2 separate regions of the Homo sapiens genome follow, and region 2 is linked to region 1. Evidence: promoter capture Hi-C in 16 types of primary human blood cells and fetal thymus (Javierre and others, 2016). All regions are on one chromosome and are shown on one strand. The core of a region is centred on a gene start or on the middle of the fragment in contact, and the rest is flanking DNA. Distances in the headings are between cores, read along the strand shown.

The links. The method cuts DNA at HindIII sites, captures the fragments that hold promoters and counts their contacts. A CHiCAGO score of 5 or more calls a contact.
Region 2: a contact is called between the fragment with the promoter of CSPG4 here and the fragment with the promoter of MAN2C1 in region 1, in 1 of 17 cell types (erythroblasts). The highest score is 6.1, in erythroblasts.

What each region holds. Positions count from the first base shown.
Region 1 is chr15:75,363,909-75,371,574 of GRCh38, reverse strand. It overlaps MAN2C1 (mannosidase alpha class 2C member 1), which reads left to right and starts at 2,968. Exons shown (of 26, transcript NM_006715.4): 1 at 2,968-3,092; 2 at 3,377-3,502; 3 at 3,941-4,064; 4 at 4,983-5,053; 5 at 6,910-7,087; 6 at 7,387-7,576. The coding sequence starts at 2,992. It overlaps SIN3A (SIN3 transcription regulator family member A), which reads left to right. Exons shown (of 21, transcript NM_001145358.2): 21 at 1-2,196. RefSeq lists enhancers at 2,793-3,087, 2,772-3,091, 2,663-3,195 and a silencer at 3,222-3,301. The HindIII fragment of the contact is 2,518 bases long and covers 628-3,145 here.
Region 2 is chr15:75,709,975-75,717,640 of GRCh38, reverse strand. CSPG4 (chondroitin sulfate proteoglycan 4) reads left to right here and starts at 4,793. Exons shown (of 10, transcript NM_001897.5): 1 at 4,793-4,973. The coding sequence starts at 4,886. The HindIII fragment of the contact is 21,900 bases long and covers 3,232-7,666 here.

The DNA of each region.
Region 1 (7,666 bases), core at 1,719-4,218:
AGGACTTAATACTCAGATGGATTGGAACTATCATGGTCACTGCTCCTCTCCCCTCCCCACAAAAGGAAAAAAAAGCTGGATTTGATTTTTTTTTTCTGGTCACTCGAGCACATCTAAGATCACCCATTAGGTTTTATCTGGGACCTGCAGTTTGGCTTTGGGATTGATCATCTTGTGGATTTTATTCCTGACGATTCCCTTGCTGCCTACCCTTTTCTCTCCTCTGGTTCTCAACCTCAACGAGTTCAAATCAGTTGTCCTTTTTAGCTCCCGTGGAACTGTTTTGTATCTGCCTCTTTACTAGTCTACCTTAGTGCCATCCACCAGCTTTACTCTCTGACACACACACGCACACACACACACAATTTTAACTTGTTTTTTTGTACATAATGTACATACTGTCAATTTTTTATTAAAAGAAATATGCTTTGATGTGCTAGCATAACTGCTCTAGCTTCTTGTGTACCATAGTACTGTGGCTTCAGATTTAGTACCTATGAACAGATGTACAAGACATTTATTACACTTTTTACCAAAGGGAGTTACCATTGTAGTACTTTTGTGTAAAACTTGTCTTCCCCTTTGCCCCCAACTTTTTTTTTTTTTTTTTTGTAAATAAATAAAGCTTGGTTCTTACTTAAGGAATAAACTCTCAACCCACGTCCCTTGTCCTCACCAGAAAATACTGTGAAGCAGGGATTTTGACTTCAGTTCCTTATCCAGGGTAGAAACAGGATTTTGCTTAAAATACTTGTTACTTGTCCCAAATCAAAATATTCCAAAATCTTAGAATACTTAAGTCTTTTAGTACGTGTTTTTTTCCCTTGTTCAAATAATCTGAAAATATTTTATATTTGGGTAAGTTGTCAAGCTATGTAGTTTGTATTTCTATATATTTTTTCTTATTCACATTGGTGATGGATGGGGGTGAGCAACTTAAATACCAAACCAGTGTTTGAAAAAAAAGTGTGCATAAGGCATGTGGTATACCTTATAAATGGAGTTGGGAGGGAGAGAATTTGAAATGGGATACCTATTTTTTTAATTACATAAATTTAAACTAGCAGACATTTAAACATGAATGATTAGGATTTTTCTATGTGGTTAACCTGGACTTTCTGAACAAAGACCAACTGAGCCCCTCCCAGTACTCTGGTGGATTTTTCTTCAGCAACCATTACGCAAGTCTTAGTTGTAACCAGCAATGTTCTGTGTGTTTTATGTTTGCTTTTTAGTTAAAAATCACCACCACCACCAAAAAGAAAAACAAAATTTTTTGGCTCCTGGATTTTCAAAACACATGGTAGACCTCTCTGATTTTAGGCTTTTATTGTTTAAAGACAGTGTCTCGCTTTATGACCCACACTGGAGTGCAGTGCCACGATCATAGCTCACTGCAGGCTTGACCTCCCAGGCTCAAGCAGTCCTCCCACCTCGGCCTCCTGAGTAGCTGCATGCCACCACGCCCAGCTAATTTTTTAACTTTTTGTAGAGACAGGGTCTTGCTATGCTGCCCAGGTTGGTCTCAAACTCCTGGCCTCAAGCTGTCCTCCCACCTCGGCCTCGCAAAGTGCTGAGATTACAGGTGTGAGCCACCCTGGCCTGATTTTAGGCTTTTTTTGTACTGGGGAGAAGAGACTGTGAGCCAAAGTGTAGGGTGCCAAAAAGAGCTTTGTGGGATGAGATTTTAGGGCAAAGCTGGGGCAGTGTCTGACTTGGCGGTGGTCATGTGTACTGATTTAGGGGAAAGATCTTGAGGTTTTCTCAAATAATTCACCTATCCCCGTGTTCCCTCAAGAAAGGTCATGTTGACCTGGAACCATAGGGGAAATTGGTGGGGTGTGATCAGGGTCAGCCCCAGCTGTTGCTGCCCCTGCAGTGTTTTGTCCAGAGCACTTGCCTGCAGGTCAGGATAGGATTTCAAGGCCAGTTCAGGAGAAAGTCCCAACCCACCAGTGCAACCAACAAAAGAGTAAGTTTTACCTACAGCCTGGGTTTTCACAAGTAGCATTTTTATTCCTCCTGCTGTCTGACATCTGAGCTCCAAGCTCTAAACCCAACCTGTATTATATGCAGCAGCAGGTTATCTTTGTTTTAAATCACATTTGTTATTCTGTACTTAGTCACCTTTCCGTGTGATCTGCATTTGAAATGTTGTAAACTTGGTCAGTATTTCCATTAAAATATCAGGGCTAATCTTGTGTATTTTTTTTTGTTCCTAATGATTTTATAGACAAAGACTCTTGGCAACCCCAGGAGAAAAAAAATAAAGCTGTCAGTGGAGTACTAGGGATGAGAATGAAACTGGAGGTCTGTTTCTGGTATTATGGCTTCCCGGGACTCTACAGTCCTGTATGGTGAAATACATTTTTCCATTGGGATCGTCAATGCCATGACTGTTCTGCCACCTCAAACTCCAGAGTTTCTGGTGATGTGCAAGAGTTAGCAATATACATTCAGTAAAGCGTGTAATCGAGTAAGTCGTAGTAACTTGGGCGTAAAGCTCTACCACCCTGCTCACTAACACCCTGATCTCCGTCCGGTATGAAAACACCTATTCCGGGTAGTCTGGCTCCACGTTAAGCAAACACCACTTTCCGTGTTCACCGACAGCTAGAGCCAGAGGTCTCCCGGTTGCTGCTTCTGAGGCTGGGTCTGCAGCAGCTGAGGCTCCCGCCTGTCTTGCCGAATGGCCTAAGTCTCTGTCTTGAGACTTTCGAGAGTTCTAATCGTCAAATTTCCCATTTTATTTTGAGATTTTCCCTGCGGCCCACTATTTCGGACAACATAGGAGAGCCTCAAAAACAGTTTCTAGCTTCCAACTCGGCTCAAAGTTCAGACAGCAGCTGGGCTTCCGAGAGCCGCCGGTGTTCCAAGAAAAGCTGCCCGGGACTGGGAGGCGCCCTCTGGACGCCGGAACCTTTGGTTTCCTGCCGTGGAGCGGAACGGTAGCGCCAGGGGCCTTCCGGAAAGAGGAGCGAGAGCCCGGCGATGGCGGCTGCGCCGGCCTTGAAGCACTGGCGCACCACGCTGGAGCGGGTGGAGAAGTTCGTGTCGCCGCTCTACTTTACCGACTGTAACCTCCGCGGCAGGTGTGGCCCCTGGTCCCCCGCAGCCGGCCGACCGCAACCGTGCGCCTCAAGCTTTCCTTCCGGGGAGAAACCTAAGCTGCAGCCACCCGGGCCGCGGGACAAAGTGCCCGCCGCGGGCAGGGCAGGGGCCGGGGAGGAGGGGGTAGGGAATGGACTGTGCCGCGGAGCGGCCAGGCAGCCCTCTTGGCGGAGGATCCAGGGAAAGTGCGGCCCCACCGGCCAGCTGGCCCCCAGGCGGAAACGGGGCGGCCTCCAGCATGTGCCCACCGGCCCGTCCCACGCAGGCTTTTTGGGGCCAGCTGCCCTGTGGCTGTGCTCTCCAGCTTCCTGACGCCGGAGAGACTTCCCTACCAGGAGGCAGTCCAGCGGGACTTCCGCCCCGCGCAGGTCGGCGACAGCTTCGGACCCACGTAGGTAACGCCCAGCGGGTGGGCGGGGCCACAGGCCTAGGGGAAGTCCCAACCCAGCTCCCAGCCACACCTTCGTTGTCTGCCCTCTGCCGTAGACAACTACGTGGGATCGAGCAGCACCCTCTGCTGGGAGCAGCACCCTCTGCTGGGAACAGCTCTCTGGTCCCTGGGTCTTCAGGGGATGGTTTTCATTCCCACGTGGCCGCCTCTGGACATCCCTTAGGAAGGGCACCCTAGGGATCACGAACCTTTGACGCCTCTGCCTGTTTCCCTCATCTTGCTTCTCACCTTGTTGCTCCTTTCTTGTGACTCAAAGCTGAGTACCTTGTGACACTGCAGATGCTTGGAGAGTTTCAAGCCCCTGCCGACACTTTATCCAAGGAAGGATATCAGGATAGGACTTCTACCTCTAGGCCTATCACAACAGCTCTCTTGCAGATGGTGGACCTGCTGGTTCCGGGTGGAGCTGACCATCCCAGAGGCATGGGTGGGCCAGGAAGTTCACCTTTGCTGGGAAAGTGATGGAGAAGGTCTGGTGTGGCGTGATGGAGAACCTGTCCAGGTGAGGAACCCTGTCCTAGGGCCAGGTATGGCCACATTTCAGCCCTGAAATGACTACAGCCCTTCTTCTGTGGACTCTGGAGAAGCCACAGCTGAGTTGCTCTGCCCACAGGGTGGTATCAGGATTTCAGGACTAGGGAAGTTGCCACTTGGGCATCTGTGCAATTGGTCCTTAGTTTTTATTGTGTATAATACAAACTTATAGGAAAACATTTCAAACAGTTCTAGATAAAGTAATGGATCTCTCCTTATCACCCATCCCATTCCCCAGCTATAACCACTGTTAAGTGTCTTATTCATGCTCCACCCTTATCAGGTTTAGTCCTTATACTCCTATCTAGTAGGTCTTTATACCCATTTACAAATTAAGAAACAGATGTGTAGTTGACTCACTCAGGTTCACACAGCTTCTATTTCAAATTGGACTGACTCTCAATCTGGGGTTAAGACTGTTCTTCCTGGCTACAAGAAGGCAGAGACCATCCCTTCCTCCCTTCACTGGCTCAGCAAATATCTCCTGGTGTCCATTCTGGGCCATACCCTTAAGCACTAGGGTGTAGCAGGGAATGAGGCAAACCTGCCCCTGACTTCACGGAGTTTCTTTCCCGGTATTTATTTAGGGGTGCAGAGGCCACCAGAATCCACACTCAGGCTGCCTAACCCCTTCCCAGGGCCCTTCCCATAAGACCATGGGTTTGCCACTGGTAAACAGGGGCTATTTGACGGTCATGGTGCTGGCTGCCATGGGAGTTGGGGCATCTACTGCCAAGGGTCCCTGATTTGCCAATCTTGGCCCTGCTTGGGAGAGAGGACCCAGAGCTGGGAACCAGATGGAGGGGCCTGACTCCCCATGGCTTACACTTTACCTGAACTGTCCAAAAGCCTCAAGCCTTGTCTCTCTCACTCCCCTCCCTACTAGGGTTTAACCAAAGAGGGTGAGAAGACCAGCTATGTCCTGACTGACAGGCTGGGGGAAAGAGACCCCCGAAGGTGAGTCCCTGTGCCCTGGTTGACCAGTGCTGTCAGGGAGGGAGTACCAGTGAGCAAGGAGGAGCTGAGGCCCAGAGTGATCTCATAAGCCCGCCTCTGCTCTAGCACAATCATCCTCACATCTCATTGTTTGCTTTTAAAAGCATGATTTTTTCCTAACCATAAAAATAATGGGCTGGGTGCAGTGACCCACACTACCCTGGGAGGCTGAGTGGGAGGATCACCTGAGCCCAGGAGGATGAGGCTGCAGTGAGCCATGATCACACCGCTGCACTGCAGCCTGGGCAACAGAGTGAGACCTTGTCTCAAAAATAATAGCAATGTTTGCCTGTGGTAAATACAGGAAAGCACAAAGAAGTAAATAACTACCGTTATTCCACTCCCTAGAATAGAGATGAACATTATTAACATCTCAGCATTCATGTTCTTTTTTTTGAGACGAAGTCTCCCTCTGTCGCCGATGCTGGAGTACAGTAGCACGATCGCAGCTCACTGTACCTTCTGCCTCCCAGGTTCAAGCGATTCTCATGCCTCAGCTTCCCGAGTAGCAGGGATTACAGGTGTGTGCCACCACGTCCAGCTATTTTTTTTTTATTTTTGGTAGAGAAAGGGTTTCACCGTGTTGGCCAGGCTACTCTCAAATTCTTGACCTCAGGTTATCCGCCCCTCTCAGCTTCCCAAAATGCTGGAATTACAGGCGTGAGCCACCGCACCTGGCCCAGTATTCATGTTCTTGGTGTATCTTTCCGGCATAGTTTTTTTTGTTTTTTCGGGGGGGTTTTTTTGGATTTTTTTGAGACGGAGTTTCGCTTTTGTTACCCAGGCTGGAGTGCAATGGCACGATCTCGGCTCACTGCGACCGCCGCCTCCCAGGTTCAAGCAATTCTCCTGCCTCAGCCTCCCTACTAGCTGAGATTACAGGTGCCCACCACCATGCCCAGCTAATTTTTTGTATTTTTAGTAGAGACGGGGTTTGACTCTGTTGGCCAGGCTGGTCTCAAACTGCTGACCTCAGGCTATCCACTTGCCTGAGTCTCCCAAAGTGCTGGGATTACAGGAATGAGCCACCGTGCCCGGCTCATCCCGGTATAGTTTTTACTAGTTAAGATTGTATCCTGACTTCTTACATTCCATGTTATAACATGGACATTTTATGACACCATTAAAAACACTTCTTAGACATTATGAATGTATTTTATATAGATTGACACTGTTTCAGATGCTTTCAGACACTGGGAGTATGGTGGTGAATAAAATAGCCCTTGCCAACAAAGGGAGACAGATTCACTCATATAATTACAAAACTGAGGGCTCTGGAAGGAAATCCTGGGTACTCCACTGAGGAATTTGCTCTAGACTTAGCAGCGAAGTGGAGTCAGGAAGGCCTCCCTAAGGAAGTCGTGTTTGCTCTCTGAAGCCTAAGTATGGCATCACCACAGCCCAGCCTGTTCTCCAATGAATGGCCCGCCCATGTTGGCCGTGTTGGTTTTAGATCTTGGGTCTAAAAGTTTGAGCCTGGGAGATCCGAACATGATTTTAATATGCAAAGAGGGTTCCAAGACCAAGGCAGTGCTTTGCAAAGACAACTTTGGAAATATAAGACTAAACAGCAGCGTACTTTACATGGTTCCAAACTTTGCTACTTATTCTCTCTGACAGCAAGACATGGGATCCATCTGGTGTTTGTACCACAACCCTCCCACATGCACTCTTGTCACACTGTGGGATCCTCTGGGTAGTGGATCCTGGAAGCAGACAGGTTGGGCTCAGCTGGATGCCTCCTGGGTGCCCCTTCCCCAAGTCCCCGGAGTACTGTGCCAGTCCCTTAGCCTGAGGCTGTCTCCCCATCTTTGTAGCCTCACTCTCTATGTGGAAGTAGCCTGCAATGGGCTCCTGGGGGCCGGGAAGGGAAGCATGATTGCAGCCCCTGACCCTGAGAAGATGTTCCAGCTGAGCCGGGCTGAGCTAGCTGTGTTCCACCGGGATGTCCACATGCTCCTGGTGGATCTGGAGCTGCTGCTGGGCATAGCCAAGGTACTTGACACCCCCTGTACCCCCTGCTACCCTCTAGAGCCCTGCTCCAAGAAGGTTGTTCTTTGGGTCAGATAAATGGGACTCTGGGAATCCAGAGTAGGACGAGGGTTTCCACCTGCTTGAGGGTTGAGAGAATTTTCCTATGTGAAGGGGAGGAGGGAGACGGTGCTGAGCAGGGGGACCAGCAGGGAAAAAGGGTTGGGGGTCAGGGGAGCTCTGCTGAGAGCCCTGAGATCAGTGGAGCCTAGGTCTGGAAGCTGTGCTTGAAAAAGGGATTAAGGGGCAGAACCCTGCTGCAGGGCCTCGGGAAGGACAACCAGCGCAGCTTCCAGGCCCTGTACACAGCCAATCAGATGGTGAACGTGTGTGACCCTGCCCAGCCCGAGACCTTCCCAGTGGCCCAGGCCCTGGCCTCCAGGTTCTTTGGCCAACATGGGGGTGAAAGCCAACACACCATTCATGCCACAGGGCACTGCCACATTGATACAGGTAGGACAGCAGCTGGTTGGGCTGGCTGGGGAAGCAGGAGTGCCCTTGAAGACCTGGATGTGCCCTAGAAGCACTGTGTGATGCTCAGCA
Region 2 (7,666 bases), core at 3,544-6,043, 340 kb before region 1:
TAGGGGCTGAACTCCAAGCTGGGTATTCTTGTATAGGGTGGTGTCCCCACTAAAGCTCCACACAGGCTAACAGCAGCCCCGCCAGCTTGCTCCAGCTGTCTCTTGGTTGTCAGTCTTGCCTCTCCTCCAAGGGACTCGGGGGAGTCACAGACAGCAGGACCCTGGCATAAAAATCATCATAACCACCAGGCACTTCAGAGTTTATAAAGCTCCGGCGCTTCTGTTGGAGGCCATCATCCAAGCACCTCGGTGGCTGTACATTTTACGGATGAGGAAAGGGGTACAGAAAGGCGAAGTGACTTGTCTGGGGCCACATAAAAAAAGGCTTGGCAGGACCGGGCTCCTGGCTCCTGACCCCACATTCTTTCCACTGCCCTGCCCAGTGGCCAGCTCAGACCCACATCCCCTGACATCTACTGCAAGCCTCATTCCCAGCCCTAAGCAGGTATTTCTCACCCTCCTTCTGGGAGCCCCAACCCAGCCCTCAAGCAAATATACTCACAAATTTTTCATCCAGGTGGGGACTGTCCACTCTACTTCCAAGAGGCTCTGTCTGCAGGCAGCCGGCTGTCCACTGGGGCCGCACAGCAAGGGTTAACAGCAGGAACTAATATTTAGAAACAGCACTACCCCAGAGGAGTCAGCTGTGGCCAGCTGGTCACAGCCACTGAAGCCACCAGCCTTTGTGAGTGTGATATGGAAGACGAGTGCCTGCTCCTGGAAAGCAAAGGCTCCAAGAGGGTCCTTCACCACCCCCGGCCCTTGTCCTCCCAGCACGGCTTGTGTGTGGCTCAGAGGCCAGGGCAAAGCCCTCCACTGGCCTCCCTTCCACAGCTGGCTCCTGAGAGTGGCAAACATAACTTTTCAGCTCCCGAACTGTGTAATTGTTGGGACTGGCTGCTCCCTCCCATCCTGAGCCTGGCTGCCTGTACTTGGAGGAGCCCTGTGTGTGCCTCTGCCAGAAGCAGGATCAGGACCACTCCTAACAGAGGCCCCAGGTCAAAGGCCCAGGCCCAGGGCCCGCTGCCATGGAGCTCTTGGCCAGAAAACTGCAGGGCCACTGAGCCAGCGCCTAAAGCCCGTGCCCTCTTGCACAGTAGTGGCCTAGGTTCTGTGACCTTCATGGCAGAGGGCCAATTCCCTGAGGGCGGGCCCTGGGCAGCAGGAGCACACCCCTGCTTAGGCACCACCCCATCTAGGGCACAGGCACACACCATTTCCCAGCAAGCTGGCTTTGGCCACAGGCTTCTTGGGTGGGGCCCAGGCAACGAGGGTGCAAAACACCCTGGCCAAGGGTGGGGCCAAACCACAGCCACTGCCCAGAGCGGGGACTCTTAGTCCAAGAAGCACTAGAGGTAGGAGTGACCAGCAGTGCTTGGCCAGCATGGTTGGGTGAACTCTGCTGGCAGGGAGGTGAGTATTACTGGGCCCTCTGTTGTCTTGTTCTCCAAGAACAATTGGAGAAATGGAGGCAGCACATACCACAGGTCACTGTAGCTTCAGAGAAGTTTGAATCTTCTTTTGCCCCTGGGTGGGAACATCCTTCTTCCTTCTTATAAGTGTGTTCTAAGCCTCCTTCTTTCCTCCTCCCTCCCACCCTGTGCTCTGTCCCATGCTTGGCTGGGGAGGCATGGACGCACACCTCCTGACCCAGCTAAGCAGGCCCCAGGTGAAACTAGGAGAGCTACGGAGATCAGGATTCCAGGGAATCTTTTGAAAGAGAAGTCGACGAGCACGAAGGAGGGCTAGGAGGGCTTGCTGGAGGAAGGTGAGATGTGGCCAGGGAGGTAGGGGCAGTCAGGGATGGCCACCAAGGATGCCTGGCCAAGCAAAGTCATGGGAAAGGTTGGAGGGCAGAAGGAAGAAGGCCCGAGCCAGACCTGAGGATGCCAGAGAGGCCCAGGTCAGCTCTGTTCAGCACTGAGGCTTCAGGGCCTTGGGTGAGCTTGCTGAGGAGCTGGAGAGGGGACAGTTGAGGAGCAGGCACAGCTGGTCCAGCAGCCTTTGTTCCAAGACAGTGGGAGGTGGTCAGGGGTCAGTTCCAAAGGCACACAGGGACCTCGACTTTCTGCCAGTCTGCCTGGCATGATGCTGCTCAGCATTGGTCCGGAGTTCCAGCCCTAGGTTACGGCTGAGCAAAGGCCAGGCCTGTGTGCGCTGGAGCCGCAGCATCCCTTTTCCACTGAGAGCCTCAGTTTCCTCATCTGGAAGCAGGGACACAGTTGGCCAACACATACGCTTCCCAAAGTTGTCAAGAGACCAAGTGAATGTTTTTTGTAAACTGGGAAGCCCCAGCAGAGATGCGCCAGCCGGGTTATTACCGCTGTGCTGGTTGCCATTATTTTCCAGGCCTGTGTTTCTCTGCCCAGCTAGCAACAAGGCAGGGGGAGGCTCCCAGCTAATCCAGACTTGAATCTCAGCTGTGGGTGGGAGCACCCTGTCTGGAGGCTCCACAGACATCTGTGTAGGTGGGGAGCAGGGAAGATGGGGAGGGGGTGGGGGGGGGAGATGGGGCCAGCAGAGATCTTCACCCAGATTTTTGATTCATAGAGCAAAAAGCCTTCTGTCTTATTTTTTCATTCCTGAAAAGAAAGCTCTTTTCCTCCAAACACAGTCTTCCAAGCAGCACCCCCACCCCCAGCCCCATAGCTTGTCAGTAATTAGCCCCTAATGAGGACCAGGTGTCCTACCGACTTGAGGAGAAGGAAAAACAAGGGACAGCCGGGCGCGGTGGCTCACACCTGTAATCCCAGCACTTTGGGAGGCTGAGGCGGGCAGATCACGAGGTCAGGAGTTCAAGACCAGCCTGGTCAACATGGTGAAACCCCATCTCTACTAAAAATACAAAAATTAGCCAGGCATGGTGGTGCACACCTGCAATCCCAGCTACTCAGGAGGCTGAGGCAGGAGAATCGCTTGAACCCGGGAGGCAGAGGTTGCAGTGAGCCGAGATCGCGCCATTACACTCCAGCCTGGGCAACAGAGCGAGACTCTGTCTCAAAAAAAAAAAAAAAAAAAACAAGGGACAAATTGTGGAATCAATGCCTTTACCGCCACTGAGGCCAGCCTAGCACAGCCTCCATCCCAGGCCTCCTAGGGCACCTGGATGGAAGCTCTTAGGTTTGCCAAAATCCCTACAGAACAGCAGCAATTGGTTTCTTAGTCAACTACAGCAGGCATTTATTGTACACCTACTGTATGCAGCAGCCTCTGGAGGAGAAAGTTCAAGCTTTACAACAAGGGAGGTGATATGTGTAAAGCTGTATGTAAACCATGAATCACAGGGAATGTGCAGGATGACAGAGACGGAGGAGAAAGGATAAGCATTTATTGAGCACCTACCGTATGCCAGGCCCTGGGCTAGGGACTTGAGGTACATTAAAGCATTTAATCCTCATTAACCCAATTTTACAAATGAGGAAACTGCCACAGAGAGGTGAGGGGACTTGTTCAAGGTTTGACAACCAAGTAAGGGAGCTGGGATTTGAACCCAGGTCTCTCTGGTTTCAAGACCAATACTCATAACCCCCACATGGACCAGGCACCATCACACCTGAGCACTGCACTTAGGGTCAAAGACCTGGCCCCACATCTCAGCAGCTATGTAGACTAGCTCCAGTCCCTTAATCTCTCTCAGCCTCAGTTTCTTCATCTGCAAAACAGGTCTCAGTTTCGTTGCAAAGTATGAAGTGCTGGGCTGTTACTGGTCAAAGGGAAGAGCTGGGAAGAGGGTGCAAGGTGGGGTTGGGCTGGAGATGGGCTGGAGCAGATAGATGGAGGGACCTGAATGGAGGAAGTAAACCAAGGCCCGGTAACATTGGGACTGGACAGAGAACACGCAGATCCTCTAGGCACCGGAAGCTAAGTAACATTGCCCTTTCTCCTCCTGTTTGGGACTAGGCTGATGTTGCTGCCTGGAAGGGAGCCAGCAGAAGGGCCCCAGCCTGAAGCTGTTAGGTAGAAGCCAAATCCAGGGCCAGATTTCCAGGAGGCAGCCTCGGGAAGTTGAAACACCCGGATTCAGGGGTCAGGAGGCCTGGGCTTCTGGCACCAAACGGCCAGGGACCTACTTTCCACCTGGAGTCTTGTAAGAGCCACTTTCAGCTTGAGCTGCACTTTCGTCCTCCATGAAATGGGGGAGGGGATGCTCCTCACCCACCTTGCAAGGTTATTTTGAGGCAAATGTCATGGCGGGACTGAGAATTCTTCTGCCCTGCGAGGAAATCCAGACATCTCTCCCTTACAGACAGGGAGACTGAGGTGAGGCCCTTCCAGGCAGAGAAGGTCACTGTTGCAGCCATGGGCAGTGCCCCACAGGACCTCGGGTGGTGCCTCTGGAGTCTGGAGAAGTTCCTAGGGGACCTCCGAGGCAAAGCAGCCCAAAAGCCGCCTGTGAGGGTGGCTGGTGTCTGTCCTTCCTCCTAAGGCTGGAGTGTGCCTGTGGAGGGGTCTCCTGAACTCCCGCAAAGGCAGAAAGGAGGGAAGTAGGGGCTGGGACAGTTCATGCCTCCTCCCTGAGGGGGTCTCCCGGGCTCGGCTCTTGGGGCCAGAGTTCAGGGTGTCTGGGCCTCTCTATGACTTTGTTCTAAGTCTTTAGGGTGGGGCTGGGGTCTGGCCCAGCTGCAAGGGCCCCCTCACCCCTGCCCCAGAGAGGAACAGCCCCGCACGGGCCCTTTAAGAAGGTTGAGGGTGGGGGCAGGTGGGGGAGTCCAAGCCTGAAACCCGAGCGGGCGCGCGGGTCTGCGCCTGCCCCGCCCCCGGAGTTAAGTGCGCGGACACCCGGAGCCGGCCCGCGCCCAGGAGCAGAGCCGCGCTCGCTCCACTCAGCTCCCAGCTCCCAGGACTCCGCTGGCTCCTCGCAAGTCCTGCCGCCCAGCCCGCCGGGATGCAGTCCGGGCCGCGGCCCCCACTTCCAGCCCCCGGCCTGGCCTTGGCTTTGACCCTGACTATGTTGGCCAGACTTGCATCCGCGGGTGAGTGAGGGGCCTGAGACCCCGACCCAGCCTGGCGGAACTAGAGGGGTTCCTCCGGGAGGGAAAAGGGACAGGAGGAGCCAGAAGTGGCCCCCAGATCGGGAGTCAAGCAGGCTGCGCTTCTCCCACCACTAGCTGGGGTCGCCAGGGGTTCAATCCTGGGGCGGACACGGGACCCCGCTATCTCAGGTTATGGGGTTTCTAGCTAGCCAAGGCTGTCCAGTTAGGGGCGGGAGCAGGCGCCCCAGGCATGGATTGCCTAGGGCGTGGCTTTGCCCGTTTGGATTGTCTGAGACACCAGTGGGGCCACCCCAATGCTGGCCGAGCTTTGTTTGCCAGGCAAGTTTGGGGTGAGTATGTTGGGGTCCAAAGGGACCCGGCGACAGTGAGAAGTGGGTCCTCCAGCTTCAGATGCCCTGGGCCAGGAATGGGGAGTGCTACAAGGTGGGAAACGAGGAATGAGCCACCCTGCCCTCCCCTGTGAGGAGCACCCCCACACCCCTCCAGCTGCCCCCCAGCTCTGCCCCTTCTTTCCTCCCCTTGCTTCCTTGCAGATCCGTCTATCTGCCACCTCCCCTCTTCATTCTCTCCTCTCCCTCCTCCTGTTGGTGACAGGCAGGACCCCCCACCCACTACCCACTCTCAGCCTCCTAGAGGGAGAGCTGGTGCCCCTCAGCGGGGCTTGTCCTACAGATAGCTCTGGACCACCCCCTGCCACACCTCCTCATCCCAGCACTGATGCCTGACCCAGCAGAGGCTGAATGGAAGTTCGCTTTCCGAGAAGTGCTGGGATATATCCCCTCTCTGTCCCGATGCCAGAAACCCCAACATGACAGCATTCTTCCTTCAGCGAAGGCAGCTCTAGTTATGCCATAAGAACTGTGGCCTTAGGGCCCATCCATCATCACTACCCACGTGTGATTCAGTGCTTCAGCTACACCTTCGAGATCATTCCCAAGAGCAACATGGAGCAAAGGCAGGGCCTGAGCCTCCTTCACAAGGGCCCAGGCCACACCCTTCTCTCCTTCAGATGGAGAAGCCAGCTCTAAAAGAGGGCATCACATGGTTCCCAGAAGGGAAGTGAGTCAAGGGAGGACCCCCGCGGGGTGAATCAGGGCTGGATCTCCAGGCTCCCTGTTCCTGCAGGGACCAGATCCCCTAAGATCTCAGGGCCTGAGGGATGGGCTGGGCCGCCAGGGAGATGGGAAGGGAGCATCCAAGGTGACCAGGGTGGTCAGCTCATTCAGGCCCCAGCCTCCAGCCAAGGAGGGATTCCAGTACCCCCACCTCCTTGGGCTTCAACTGAGAGCCATTCTCAAATACCTTCTTAGCCCTGACAGCATGCAGGCATGGTGCTAGGCTCGCAGGGGCACGGGAAATTGAGAGGCTGAACTGAGACTCATTCAGGAGGCAGAAAGGCAAATTAAATCTCAAACAGCAAAAATCTGGATGAAAAGTACAGAGGGGAGAAAAGCAGGGGCAAGCTGGGGCAGGACACAGGGTGGGCCTCAAACCAAGCCTTGGTGGATGGGAAGGGAGTCAGTCCTCCAGGCAGGGGCGCTGACTCAGAGGCACCAAGGTGGGCGTAAGCAGAGGGGTGTTGAGACAGGAAGGCCAGCAGCCTGGCTGGGAGGCGTATTTCGAGCACAGGCCAGGGAGAACCACTGGGCTGGGGCACAGAAGCCTTAAATGGCAAAATGAAGCCCACGGCCTTATGCCCTGTTGGCAAAGGAGATGCCACAAGGGTTTTAGGGCAAGAGAGCAGCATGGTGCTGTGGGGTTTTATAAAGTTACACCATCCCCTGCCTTTAGGAGGACTCGGAAATGAGGAGGGGCTGTGAGAGCTCCCGTCCAGCAACCCATCTCTGTCACCACTCCTGGTCCAGCTGCCTGCCCTGATTTCTGCAGTAGGGGCAGCCCCTGCCTGAGGAAGGCGTCCCTCCCACCCCTCCTGGATGCCCCTGGCTGCAAAGGCCCTCGTCCTCCCGTATCCGAATGAGGCGTGCTGGGAGGCTCTCCCTCTACTCATCAACATTTGAGGCATCCAGGTCAGGGGGCCTGGCAGTCAGCACCCTAGAGGCCATCTGGGCCAATCTTCCACTTGTATAGAGAGGGAAACTGAGGCCCCAGAGAGGAAGAAAAGTACTCTGAGTTCCACCAAGAACCCCAGCAGCCCAGGAAGAGCCCCCAGCCCTGCTTCGAGGGTGCTCCCAGCCTGCGTCGGGGCCTAGGCTTGGGCCACTGAGACAGTGTGGGTGACAGATGCGGTGTCCAGCTCCTTCTGAGCTGTATGGGAGGCCCCAGCAGAGAGCCAAGCATTGGGGGAGATTGGATTTGAGCTGATACTGGAAGGACAGGCAGAGAAGGAAGGAGGTGACATTCTAGTCGGGGGGTCACAGTGAGCACAGGGCAGGCAGGGGTGGTGGCTCCCACACCTCTTCCCTGGCATCACTGACTGAAAGGCAGAATGTGAGGGGTTGAAGTGGGACCCAGGTTGGGGAGTACCTGGCAGGGAGGGCTTGTGTGTTACCTGGGTGGGGACTCAGAACTGATGGGGGTATCTTAGTGAGCAGGGCCACAGGGACACCAGGTACAAGAAATTGAAGCAGGGTAGATCCTGCTGCCTCTGAGGATGGCTTGGGGGGACCGATGGTGCTCGGGACAGGCACTGAGCCTTGTGTGCACCTTGTGTG